Regions from separate parts of the Homo sapiens genome. Here all the other regions are linked to region 3. Evidence: promoter capture Hi-C in 16 types of primary human blood cells and fetal thymus (Javierre and others, 2016). All regions are on one chromosome and are shown on one strand. The core of a region is centred on a gene start or on the middle of the fragment in contact, and the rest is flanking DNA. Distances in the headings are between cores, read along the strand shown. Region 1 has its middle 4.2 kb from the start of TILRLS. Region 2 has its middle 23 kb from the start of TILRLS. Region 3 holds the start of LINC02219 (long intergenic non-protein coding RNA 2219). Region 4 has its middle 15 kb from the start of CD180.

Evidence for each region. The method cuts DNA at HindIII sites, captures the fragments that hold promoters and counts their contacts. A CHiCAGO score of 5 or more calls a contact.
Region 1: a fragment that was not itself captured here is called in contact with the fragment with the promoter of LINC02219 in region 3 in 2 of 17 cell types (megakaryocytes and naive CD4 T cells); the score reaches 6.6 in megakaryocytes.
Region 2: a fragment that was not itself captured here is called in contact with the fragment with the promoter of LINC02219 in region 3 in 1 of 17 cell types (erythroblasts); the score reaches 5.8 in erythroblasts.
Region 4: a contact is called between a fragment that was not itself captured here and the fragment with the promoter of LINC02219 in region 3, in 1 of 17 cell types (monocytes). The highest score is 7.1, in monocytes.

Annotation. Positions count from the first base shown.
Region 1 is chr5:67,262,144-67,265,421 of GRCh38, forward strand. No RefSeq gene overlaps it. Among named protein-coding and RNA genes, the nearest start is that of TILRLS, 4.2 kb to the right of the region's middle. The HindIII fragment of the contact is 1,208 bases long and covers 786-1,993 here.
Region 2 is chr5:67,288,866-67,292,269 of GRCh38, forward strand. No RefSeq gene overlaps it. Among named protein-coding and RNA genes, the nearest start is that of TILRLS, 23 kb to the left of the region's middle. The HindIII fragment of the contact is 1,857 bases long and covers 1,001-2,857 here.
Region 3 is chr5:68,188,560-68,191,926 of GRCh38, forward strand. It overlaps LINC02219 (long intergenic non-protein coding RNA 2219), which reads left to right and starts at 1,317. Exons shown (of 3, transcript NR_105003.1): 1 at 1,317-1,432. The HindIII fragment of the contact is 11,987 bases long and covers 1-3,367 here.
Region 4 is chr5:67,210,497-67,213,636 of GRCh38, forward strand. No RefSeq gene overlaps it. Among named protein-coding and RNA genes, the nearest start is that of CD180, 15 kb to the left of the region's middle. The HindIII fragment of the contact is 2,788 bases long and covers 257-3,044 here.

The DNA.
Region 1 (3,278 bases), core at 140-2,639, 930 kb before region 3:
GACAAAATGCTTATACATAGGTGTATCATATGCTTATACATAAGATTATAAAGGAGCTGAAAAATTTATATCACACAAATACTTACCATTGTGTTACTATTTCCTTACACTATTTAGTACAGTAACATGCTGTGCGGGTTTTCAGTCTAGGAGCAATAGGCTGTACCATATAGCCTAGGTGTGTAGTAGGCTATATACCATCTAGGTTTGCATAAGTATACTCCACGATGTTTGCACAACAACAAAATTGCGTAACAATGCATTTCTCAGAACATATCCCTGTCATGAAGTGACTCGTGACTATATTTCTTATTTCTCGCCTGTGTCAAAGAGTGTCACCATGCAGGTTGCCAACAGCCAGGGCAATGCAATGATCACTTTGGGAGGATGATAAAACTACCCTGAAATTACTGTTTCAGGGTATAATTCCTGAGAGTGCCACATCCTCTACAGTTTCAGTTGATCAGCTGGGAAACTAGTTGATTTTGGAGAAAAATAGGCTAGGAATAGCATCTGTAAACACTTTTAAGTAGTTTTAATGTTTTCCTACATGATGGATAAGCAAGATATAGCATATTAAAGCAACAGCGAGAGAATTTAAAAATTTGATTTGCTTCAAAGGGTTTGTGATACAAACACAGTGCATGTGATTCCTTCTGAAATATGCCCTGAAAGGGGCAGGAACCAGTCTGTGGGTTATTTATCCCCAAAGGTGTCTTTGTTCAGACCCATGGTCACGCCATTCATGTTTCAAGAAATAATATTTTCCAAAGTGGTGCCTCTTAAGCTTTTGTTTAGTTATACTTCTAGTTCTCTGGGGCTGAAGGTAAGAAGGGAGGATTAATTATGCCTCAGATGAATGTCCTTTTGCCATTAAACTCTTGGCTCCTTACTCTGCTTTTCTTCTCTTGCTCAATTTCTTCTTTCTTCACCTTATCTGTGAAACACATTAATCTCCTATTATCAGTTTTTCATGCAGTAATAGATAGACTTGACTGTTATTGAGGAATGCTTTATCCACACTTTTTTCATATTTTTCATGTGCATAAATGCATTCTCCCATCTGAAGGTTGCAGGGAGCAGGGTGATCATGAGTTATAGAACCTCTTTGTCTAGCCAAGGAATGCCACCAGAATTTTTAAAGGAGCTTCCCCTCTAGTCCTTTAAGCTAAGAAAGTGGGTGAGTCTGGGAATGGCCTGTAGATTTTTTTTTTTTTTTCCAACAGGCATTCATTTTAGTTGCAAGAGAAGAACTGGAGCCAGTGAAATATATACAGGCTGAGAAGTGGCTTATTTGAGTTAATATGGAAAAATAGAAAATAATGGGAACTAGGTCAAAAATGGCAAAAGGGATTATAGCTTAAATGGAGACAGGCTTCCAGACAATGAAGGGAAGAGGGTCTGGTAGTAATAGTGTCTATAAACCCATACCCACCAGCTTCACATCTGGTGGTAAGTAGGAGGCCAAAGGAATACTGTGATGAATCGACAGATGACAAAAATGGAAATGAGAAAGAGTTGTTAGGCTCTGCGGAGCTGGATGGACGTACAGAGGATGAGGAGGGCTTGAGTTAGGAGAATGCAGGGGAGCTTCTTTTCCAGTCTCTTCATGGGTGGCCAGGTGATTGACACACAGGAGATGAGAGGGAGGCAGAATGGTAGATGGAAGGAATGGTGAGAGGATGGGCATGGGATTTCCTGTTGCAATGACCTGCTGGGAGTTCAGGTGTCACCATCTGTGACTTCTTCAGATACTCCAGTTTTTCCCCCTGTAAGCCTTGTGGCTTTCCTGTCACTGTTAATTTGCAGCAGTCTCCTTGAAACCAGACGCCAGGAAGAAGTCAACTACTAAGTAGGGTCCTTCTTAGCTAGGACCCCTGTATCTTCCCTAATATCCTGTTACTCAGTCTTTTTCCCTCCAGCCTCCTGCCTCCCAGGGAGGCCATGCATGCTCAGACATGACAGCCTTTAGGACTTTAGCACTGATTCTCCAAGCTTTGCCAGTCTTTTCCATTATTGAACCAGGACACATACCAGCTGGGTTTAAGAGAGCAGCTGGATGCCTTTCAAGACTCATCTGAACTTCAGCTGCAGTGTATTTTTTGTGTGTTTGTCTACATTAGGGATGTCTGTTCATGCTGGGAAGCTGAGCAGGAATCCTTTCTTTTCTACTTGCTCTGCAGAACGCCATGTGAAGGAGTATCCAGTCAATACTCTAAGGTAGTTAGGATTCCTACAGAAACAAGGGAATGGACTGTACAAAAATAACCGAAGGATCAAATATAGACATGCTGAGCTCTGGAATATGAATTCAAATGTGGCTCTTTGGCATTTGAAACCAGTACGATGTCCCAGAAGGATGAGGAAAACCCAGTCTGTAGAGTGCTTTTGTCAAGTCAGTCCCCAGCAGGGTTGGGTTAATGCTCTGAGGCTTCCTAAGGTGTAAGAGAAATATCAAACAGCCAAGCTTAGCAAGGTCCATCCTAAGGGAGGGGCATGAGTTCTCATGGATCAACTGAAATGCTCATAGTTCCTTTACCAGTAATGACTTAGGCACTGGCCCCCAAATGTGAGGACAATTCTTACTGTGAGGACAATCAGATAGCTCACATGGACTGTGTCTCCTGATAAGCCTTCATGACAGTTTGATGCCTGGTTATATGACAATGGATGTTGTGATTCTGAGATTTCTTACATGTTTGTCTTTCAGAGTGCTTCCTAGTTACCAAGATATGCAGTCTCAGCCAACTCTTTAAAAACTAAAGTTAATTTATTCAATTGGAAATAAGCACCATCTAAGGCATTGAGAGATAAAGCCATGAAGAAAAACCCCATAGATTCTTGCTTTCAAGTCTCAGACATTCTTGTAGGTGGTGAGGGGAAATGCATAATTAATAAGTTATTGCCTAGATAGTATAATAAATGGTGATAAGCACTAAGAAAAATAAAGGCAAGAAGGGCTTAGAAAGTGTAGGGAGGGTTGACTTTGATTGTCTTAAAATATTCAGGTGTTTAGCAGTACACAGACACAATTTTTGATGTCTTGGTGATTATTTTCAAGTTATATTCAGTTTGGGTGAATAATATGAGATTTTCATAACACATAATTTTCAAAGCACTTTCATGTTTATTATTTCCACAAACTTTGCCTTCACCAGTCTCATGTAGATAACTATCTTGCTCCATTCAGGCTCAGATTTGAACTATATTAAAGGTAGTCTTTACAATGTATTTAGGTGATTACTGAAAAAATGCTGTGTTCCACCTTATGACTGTCT
Region 2 (3,404 bases), core at 679-3,178, 900 kb before region 3:
ACTATTTTTAGGTACCTTATATGAGGGGAATCACACAATATTTGTCCTTTTGTGATTTGCTTATTTTACTTATCATAATGTCTGCAAGGTTTAGCCACGTTGTAGCATGTGTAGGACTTTCATTTCATTTTAGTCTGAACGATGTTCTCTCATATGTATATAACACATTTTGTTTATCCATTCACCCATCCGAGGACACTTAGGTTGCTTCCACTTTTTGACTATGGTGAAGAATGCTGCTATGAACATGAGTATAGAAGTATCTGAGACTCTGCTTTCACTTTGGGGAGTTATATACCCAGTGGAATTGCCAAAAATAGATTCTTGAAAAGGGAAGATCCTGAGGGAAGTAGGTGATAAAATTTTTACTCCATCAGTAAATTAGAGAAAGGGCAGAAGTATATGATCCAGGACTCTGAACCTAGTGAGATGGATGGAGGCAGTCACACAGCCAGGGTAGGGAAGGAGAGAGGGGCAGGCTTGATCCAAAAGGAGGTCAAGCTATTGGCAGGTTGAGATTTAGGCCTTAAAACATTCCTTGGAGAGGCTGTAGCCAGCTTAGAAGGAGCTCTTGAAAGCTGAGCCAGGGTCAGCACATCCAGGGGCCATTTGAGTGGGTACTACCAGGTGCTCATTCAGAAGACTGACACCAGATCTCTCTCCTTCACTGCTGAGTGAGGTCCTGTCATGGACAGCTCTGCCCATAGCCCAGTGATTACCCAGCAGCAGGATGTCTGCCGGTTTTCCCTAAGCGAGAAAAAGCTGTGACCTCGAAGTGTTCTGAGTTGAAAGCTGTCTTGGAGTGGAAGGGATGGACACATTTCCTGCAGCTTCCTGGATTCAACTGGCCACTGGGAGTCAAATCAGACTCTGGAGTTTAACACATGGTTTCTAAGGAGTCCCCAAAGGGTGACTCTGCTGTGTGCAGCATTCCCAACTGTGAAAAGCATGTGGGTTGGAAGGCGGATGAGATGGGGGTAAGCATGGAAGTCATAGCAAAAGCTTAGGATGGTCACCCTTGGTGGACTGGACTAGTCTGACCTGGTGCTAGAACCTGTCCTCCCTGGGGCAGGCCCAGCTGGTGCCCCAAGGACTTGCATTTTGTTCCATGCAGCCTCTTGCATTAGGCAATGACCATAGCACCCTGGATAATGACCAGTCTTGGAAAGATTAGCATTCTACATACTTAGTTTTTGAAAAAAATTATGTAACTGGTGTTCTACTTTTTCCTAGAATCTTTGCCTCTCTAAGGACAAGTCTTTGCTCTTGTAAAGGGAGAAAGGGATCCAAAAAATATTGGTATGCAGTAATTTTTGATTAGCATCCCTAGCCAAGTGATAAAGATATATTACATGCTCCGAAATTCTACAATAGCCCACCCAAATCCCTGATTCATTGCCTGAAGGGGCCCTTTGCAACACAATAGCTTACACTTCAGGCCCAGATTTCAAGAGGACCCATTAATCAGTGATGTGAGGTGGTGAGCGAGAGGGTTTGGCCCCATGACAACTTGGAAAGTTTGCCATGATTTGGAAAGAACAGCAGCCCACATTCTGAATAGAGAAAGGGAAAAGGGGACAGAATTCTCTGCTGAACAATAATGAGAATAAGATGGAACTGCTTCAAAAAGATGTCCATCCAGCAGTAGACGAGTACACCTGTGCATATGGCAAATGTTGGGGACCAGGCTTGGTCATGGTCACGTCTGGGAACAGACTGACAGGGATCAGTGGGATGCTCACTTTAAGAGTATCTAGGTAGCTGTCATAAGAATGTGTTTTATTCAGAATAAAAAAAAAAATCACTGTGTTTGTAAAAACAAGGATGTTCTTGTTTAGTTGTCTAGGTTTCTGACATTTTGACTTGTGGCTCCTAGAGACTTGAGTGGCAGCGGAGATATTAATTTTTATGCATGTTGGGCATGAGATATAAACAAAGTGGATATTTCCTTTATGATTCACAAAGTAGTGGAAAGGATTCTGCTTTAAGAATCGGGCAATGGAGCTAACTCTGCTGCCCTGCTGCAACTCTGTTTGAAACTATGATGTATTATTTTACCCATCAGGCCCTCTGCTTCCTCACATCATTATGGGGTGGGAGTGGATGGAAGGTAGCTGGGTTAGATGTCTTTTATTCATGACCCGGAGGGCTTCAGAGATCTTGCCAGCCCTCTGGAATAGTTTATAATATGTTATGTCTTTGTGGATATAAATATTTTTTCTCAAAAGAAGGCTTATTGCTTTTATCACATTTTCTAAAGTGGTCTGTGGCTCCCCAAATGTTCAGAACTCTTGTACTAGATCGCTAAACATCTCCTCTAACTCTTACAGTCCTTGAATGTGCTCTTGTACATCTGTGACTCTAAGGTTAATCCGGTTTATTATGAGAGGTGACCGTGATGGTATCTTCCCTAAATCTGTTTTGTTTCATTGTAATGTGAGAAAAGTTTCAGGAATGTGAACTTTCCTAGTTCATTCTCATTTTCTGGACTCAGCTGACCTTTCTTGGGAAAAATAATAGAAAAGTAGGAAATGGGCATCTTTAGCTCCTTTAATCTCTGCAACTCCTGGTTGTGTCTGCTCATCCCACCTCGCAGGGTCTCACACAGCCCCATTGTGAAACCCAAGCAGATTTCTGCTCTCAGCTCTTTTCTCATTGATCCCTTTCTGCCTTCACCCCACCCTCACTGCAGTTTTCCACCCAGATAGATGCTCCTTGACTTACAGTGGAACTGCATCCTGATAAGTTAGTAGTAGATGTTCCTTTACCAGACACAGAGGGGATCCCGGAGGTATTAAAAGGTTGATCCACTGAAGGTTGAAAATGCATTTAATACACCTGACCCATCAAACATCAAAGCTTAGCCTAGTCCACTTTAAATGCACTCAGAACACAAATTTATGATTGGACAATAATCATCGAGCAACCCAGTACACTGCAGAGTATCGGTGTTTACTCTTGTGACTGGGAGCTGTGGCTCGCTGCCACTGCCCAGCATCATGAGAGAGCATTGTACTGCATGTAGCTAGCCAGAAAAAAGAGGAAAATTCAACACTCAACGATTTCTATGAACGCGTATTTCTTTTGCGTTGACATAAAGTCAAAAAATTGTTAAGTTGAAGCATTGTAAATCAGGGGCCATCTTAATGCCCATTCTACATCTATTCTTTAAACAACTGACTTTAATTGAAAAGCTACATGGGGAATGATCTTTGAGCAGGCGAATCTTTTAATACCTCCAGGATCCCCTCTGCGTCTGGTAAAGGAACATCTACTACTGACTTATTGACCTCTGCACGTGCAAAAGGAGGTGGAGATGGAGGGATGTGTTGTTTCTGAAGGGGAGAGTTCCTGGTGCAGATTTCTTACTGGCTAAACTTGCTGGAAACACCCACAGAAGTGGC
Region 3 (3,367 bases), core at 67-2,566:
TATTTCATTTTTGAATTTTTCAGGGGTTTTGTGTGTGTGTGTGTTTTTCTGTTTTAAAAAGTACATCATAATTTGGTAAATTGAGAAGATGCAGAAAAGAAGTATAATGAAGAAAGTAATTATAAGTCCCATGATTTCAATTAGCACTTGCTTATATTCTTATGTATTACCTTTCAATCTTTACATACACACGTGCACACACAGAAAGAAAGAGAAAAAAATGAACATACCTAAATGGAATTCAATCCTACTTAGCTTTATACCATGCTTTTTTTTTTTTTCCTTCTGGTAACCATTCCCCATGCCATTAGATATTCTTAAAAGGGTGATTTGTACTGACTTTGGAATATTTCTAGGCTATGTTTCTTTATGCTAGAAAAAGTTCAGACAGTTTTATTTACACCATGCCATACTTAGAAACTAGAAGAGGATGCTTATAGTTAGAGATTACAAGGAAATGTATTTTGCACTAGATATATACCACTTTCTTCAGAATCATTTAAGAATTGCAGCTGGATTCAGCATAGTATTTGGCAAGTACAAATATAGTAATACAATGAAGTTTTCTCACCTTCAGATGTGCTCCAAAAAGAGAAATCAGAAGGAATGAAAATAGAGTGTGAGGGTGGGGTGTGGAAGTTAGGAGCAAAGCAAGAGAAAGGGAGACAATGCTCAGCCCACCCACCCACACCCACACATAAACACACATACACACATGCACACACACACAAACACACCAATTTCCGTAAGCCTCACATCAGCTGACGTGATTTCTGTTTCTTAATTAAGAACCTCAGAATCAGGCCGGATGTGATGGCTCACGCCCATAATCTCAGCACTTTGGGAGGCGGAGGCGGTGCAGAGGGGGTGGGGTGGGGATCACTTGAGGCCAGGGGTTTGAGACCAGCCTGGCCAAAATGGCCAAACCCCCTCTCCACTAAAAATACAAAAATTAACCAGGCATGATGGTGCGTGCCTGTAATCCCAGCTACTCAGGTGGCTGAGGCATGAGAATTGCCAGGAGGCGGAGGTTGCAGTGAGCCAGTGTACTCCAGCCTGGGTGACAGAGCGAGATTTTGTCTCATAAAAAAAAAAAAAAAAAAAAAAAGAACCTCAGAATCAAAACTCAAAAGAATCCAGTGGAAAATCACAAGGATTAAAGCGAAGAGACATATTGCATATTAGAAATGCACAGCTAACGATGTGACAGCAGAAGGGTCCAATGACAGGACACTCGGCATTGTTTGATCACCTGTTGCACACAGGGCTGTACAATGGACATGGAAACGTAGAGATGAATAAATAAGTCACAGGCCTTGGTCCCTTGGAGTTCACAGTCTAATGGGGAAGACAGGATATAAGCAAGTAGTTTCAGCATAGCTTTGGAATTGCATGCAGAGAAGTGAGTGAAGTGAGTGAGGGCCCAGCCAAGGTAAGACCAGGATTCACAAGAACATCCCAAGATCTCAGAGAGGAAGGGAACTTGGAGCGAAGTAGAGAAGAATAAGACCTTACAAACATAGGGGAAAAGGAGTCATAATGGGAGAAATTTTAACAGTTTGATTAATTTTTTTAAAAAAAGGCAAGTGTATTTTAAAATGTCTGTTTTTCCTAGGCTTGGGAACCAATGTTATTGGATACAAACTTGCCCTTGTTTTTGTAATAAGAGATATTCCTTAAAAAGTTTGGTATATGGCAAACTTTGATATTTTAAGCATATTTCAAAAAAAAAAGGACTCACCATGTAAAGAAACTGAACTATGAATTTGTTTGTTGTCTAGATAACACCTAATTTGACTTTTTTTTTTTCTTTTCTTTTTTTTTTTTTGAGACGGAATTTCGCTCTTGTTGCCCAGGCTGGAGTGCAATGGCACCAGCTCGGCTCACTGCAACCTCCTCCTCCTGGGTTCAAGTGATTCTCTTGCCTCAGCCTCCCGAGTAGCTGGGATTACAGGTGCCTGCCACCAGTCCCAGCTAATTTTTGTATTATTAGTAGAGATGGCACCATGTTGGCCAAACTGGTCTCAAACTGCTGACCTCAGGTGATCCACCTGCCTCAGCCTCCCAAACTGCTGGTATTACAGGCGTGAGCCATCATGCCTGGCCTATTTGTCTTTTTTTCATATGGACTTTACATACCACACGTAGTTAGTGCAGTCATGAAAATAGTATCTCCCCACTTGTTCCATTCATTAATGTCAAGCCCAAAAGGACCTTGAGTGAGTTTTATGTTTATTTGCTTGAGCCCATCCCCCAACCCTCCACCCACACACATTCACTTACCCTACTTATATGTGAATATTGCAATTAAGATGGCAAAAGGCAGGCAGCAGCGCGAGCACATGTGGCCATGATGAATGCAAATGTTAAAGATTAACCTTTTTTAAAAAAAGCAGGTTTACTTAATTTTGAAAAGTATCATATTTGCAAAGCTAATTTAGTATTTTTAATTCCCACACTGATTTTTCTTAACCAGTTTGCAGCCTTCCCAACCTACACAGTGACTTTGACTTCTTTTTCTTTCTTTCTTCCTTTCTTTCTTTCTTTCCTTCTTTCTTTTTTTTTTTTTTTTTTTTTTTTTTTTGTAGTTTAAGATCATTTTTTTGAACAACAAGAGACAGGGAGAGGGAGGGGGCAACTACATCCCCCAAGCCCTACCATGGGGAATGGACCTCTCCCTGCCTCCTGCCCCCTAAGCAGCTCCCCTTGTACTATGGGAGGGAGACTTTGTGCAAACTCAGCCCTGAGGGGGTCACAGTGACTCTTAAGGTTGGTCAGGGCTGTAATTACAACTTAGCAAACAGAGAAACCAAAATAAAGAGGCAATTTTAGCTGCTTTCTCAGGTAGGCCCTCAAATTGTCACCTGTTAGAGTGCATTTTCTGCAGTGACTAGAGCCTGCATCTTTAGACAAGCGCTCTGTCCATAGAGTCATGAAGCTACTATTCTTGGGAAATGGATCATGCTCCACCCTTTAATTGAACAGAGTACTTGAATTCTTATAGTATTGAAAATCTCTATGAATTTAACATGGGAGGAGCATGTGCCACACAATCTGGCTGGAGGGGTGGGAGGCAGGAGTCTATGCTTATCTTCCTGTATTTTTCCTCTGATCACCAGACCAGAATGTGTTTCACTGTGGTTAGAGTAAATAAAGTCTCAGGATAACTTTTTTTTTTCAAACAAAAACAAAAAATTCAGTTGTTCTGAAAAGCACTGATAATGTGAAATAAGACAACTGTAGCTGTAATTTAAAGGGTCATCTTTGTTTTATTTTTCTTAAATTGAATATTGTTTTTTCAGAATACTTATGTTCCATGAATATATTTCTAGTTTGAAGAAACTTAAGCTGCTTTTCAAGGTTATAC
Region 4 (3,140 bases), core at 401-2,900, 980 kb before region 3:
AGAAAAAAAAAAAAGTCTGATGTTATTTGTCTTGGGTTTAGGCTGGGTGTGGGGATTTTTAAAAAATGTCCCCAGGGGATCCTAAACTACAGCCAGGATTGAGACCTGCTCTCTGAATCCTCTGTTTCTGCCTTCTCAGGCTTCAGCAGGTAGCCCCACTCTCACCTGCATTTCCAACCATTTCTGTTTTTGGGTCATTTTCCAAATCATATGGAATTGCCCTAAACTCTGCCATATGAAAATAAGAATTAAAAAAAGCTTTCCTGGATCCAATATTCATAGCAACTATCTGCTTTCTTTATGCACTTTCCAAGCCAAACTTCAAGAATAAGTCACCCACACAGGCTGTTTCTGCTTCCTCCTCATCGTTTTCATAAAATGTACTCCAGATTGGATTCTGTTCCAGGGATGATCACCCTGTCATTCAAAACGACTCACCTCCCTTGGCCTCCAAGACCCCATGTTCTCCTAGTTTCTTTCTCAGGCTACCTTTCCACCTGATCTCCCAATGTTGAGAGTTCCTCAGGACACGTGCTTGGCTGTCTTTCTTTCTTACTTCACTTCCCACAGCTTTTCAGTCCCTGGGACTTTGGAACTTCAAGCCTGTGCTCAGACCATTCTGTCAGTCTCATACCTGCATATCCAAATCCCTATTCGGCCTTCCTTTCCAGAGGCGTGTGCTAGACATCTCAGATTTCATGTTCCAAATGGAACTTTAAAAAGTTAATTAATTAATTAATTTATTTTTTGAGACGGAGTCTCGCTTTGTCGCCCAGGCTGGAGTGCAGTGGCGCGATCTCGGCTCACTGCAAGCTCCGCCTCCCGGGTTCACGCCATTCTTCTGCCTCAGCCTCCCGAGTAGCTGGGACTACAGGCACCCGCTACCACGCCTGGCTAATTTTTTTTGTACTTTTAGTAGAGACGGGGTTTCACCATGTTGGCCAGGATGGTCTCTATCCCTGACCTTGTGATCCACCCGCCTTGGCTTCCCAAAGTGCTGGGTTTACAGGCGTGAGCCACCACGTCCGGCCTAAAAAATTTATTTTAATTTATTATTATTTTTTTGAGACAGAGTCTCACTCTGTCACCCAGGCTGGAGTGTGGTGGCACGATCTTGGCTTACTGCAACCTCCACCTCCTGGGTTCAAGCGATTCTCCTGCCTTAGCCTCATGAGTAGCAGGGATTACAGGTGCACACCACCACACCCAGCTAATTTTTGTATTTTTAGGTAGAGATGAGGTTTTGCCATGTTGGCCAGGCAGGTCTTGAACTCCTCACCTCAGGTAATCCACCTGCCTCGGCCTCCCAAAGTGCTGGGATTACAGGCGTGAGCCACCATGCCTGTCCCCAGATGGAATCTTGATACACCACCCCCCCACACTTAGACTCGTCTTGTATAATAGTTCCTATTGTATTAATTTCCTATGGCTTCTGTAATAAATTACTAAAAATGAGCTGACTTAACCCAGCACACATTTATTTTCTCATAGTCCTGGAGGCCAGAAATCTAAAATCAATTCCTCTGGGTTGAAATCAAGGTGTTGGCAGGGCTGTACTCCCTCTGGAGCCTTAGGGGTGAATGTGTTCCTTGTCTCTTACTGCTCCTGTTAGCTGCTGGCATTCTTTGCTGTATTAGTCAGGATTCTCCCAAGAAACAGAACCAATAGGATCAAACTGTCTCTCTAGAGAAGACCAATGCTCCAGCTCATGCAGTCACGTAAGAGAAATTCCCTCTTACTTGGCCTTTTTCTTCAACTCCAATCTTCAATTGATTGAATGAGGCCAGCCCACTTTGGCGAGGATAATATACTTTACTCAGTCTGTTCATTTAAATGTTAATCTCAACCAGAAACACCTTCACAGTCACATTAAAAATAATGTTTGGTCAAATGTCTGGGCACTCCATGGCCCAGTCAAGTTGACACATAAAATTAATTGTCACACTTGGCTTGTGGTAGCATCACTCCAATCTTGGAGGCCAGCATCTTCAATTCTCTTTCTGCCCTGTCTTTACATAGCCTTCTCCTCTGTGTGTGTGTGTGTGTTTTAATCTCCTTCTGCCTCTTTTTTATAAGGATACAAGCGACTGCATTTAGGTTCCACCTAGATAATCCAAGATCATCTCCCCATCTCAAGATCCTCAATTACATCTACAAAGACTATTTTTTTTTCCAAATAAGAGAATATTTACAGGTCCCAGGGATTAAGACATGAATTTCCTCGGAGGACCATTATTCAGCCTATTACATCAATTCATACAACAGCAATTTTATCCGCCCAATGTCTTAAGCCAGAAATTTGGAACTCACATTTGTCATAAAATTCTCCTCAACACCATTTAATCCAGCCATAACTCCTGTATTTTCTTTTAAAAAGTCTTTTTTTTTTCAAGATCACTAGGTTCTTATAAATAAATCTTAATTCTCCTCAGTAATTTCCCTCTCCTCTGCCACCAACCTAACCCAAAACATAATATCTTTCCCATTCTTTTTTTTCTTTTCTTTTCTTTTTTTTTTTTTTTGAGACAGAGTCTTGCTCTGTCACCCAGGCTGGACTGCGGTGGCCCGATCTTGGCTCACTGCAACCTCCACCTTCTGGGTTCAAGCGATTCTCTGCCTCACCCTCCCGAGTAGCTGGGATTACAGGTGCCCGCCACCACACCCGGCTAATTATTGTATTTTTAGTAGAGACAGAGTTTCACCATCTTGGCCAGGCTGGTCTTGAACTCCTGACCTCGTGATCCACCTGCCTCGGCCTCCCAAAGTGCTGGGATTACAGGCTTGAGCCACTGCACCTGGCCCCCATTCTTATTTTAATCGTTCATTTATGTCCATTGTAATTTTCTCTTTATTTGTGATGATGTTAAGTGTCTGTCTCTAGTCACTAGATTATTGGCATTGTGAAGGCAGGACCATACATGTTTTGTTCATCATTATATTTTAGGTCTCAGCATAGTGCTTAGTACAGAGTAGATGCTCAATAAATATTTAACATATATATTATATATATTAATAGATGGATGGCACCTTTTCCACCATGAGGAAGCTTCCAGTCTGGTAAAGGGACCATTAAATATATATAATTTTTTTTTTTTTTGAGATGTAGTCTTGCTCTGTTGCCCAGGCTGGAGTGCAGAGGC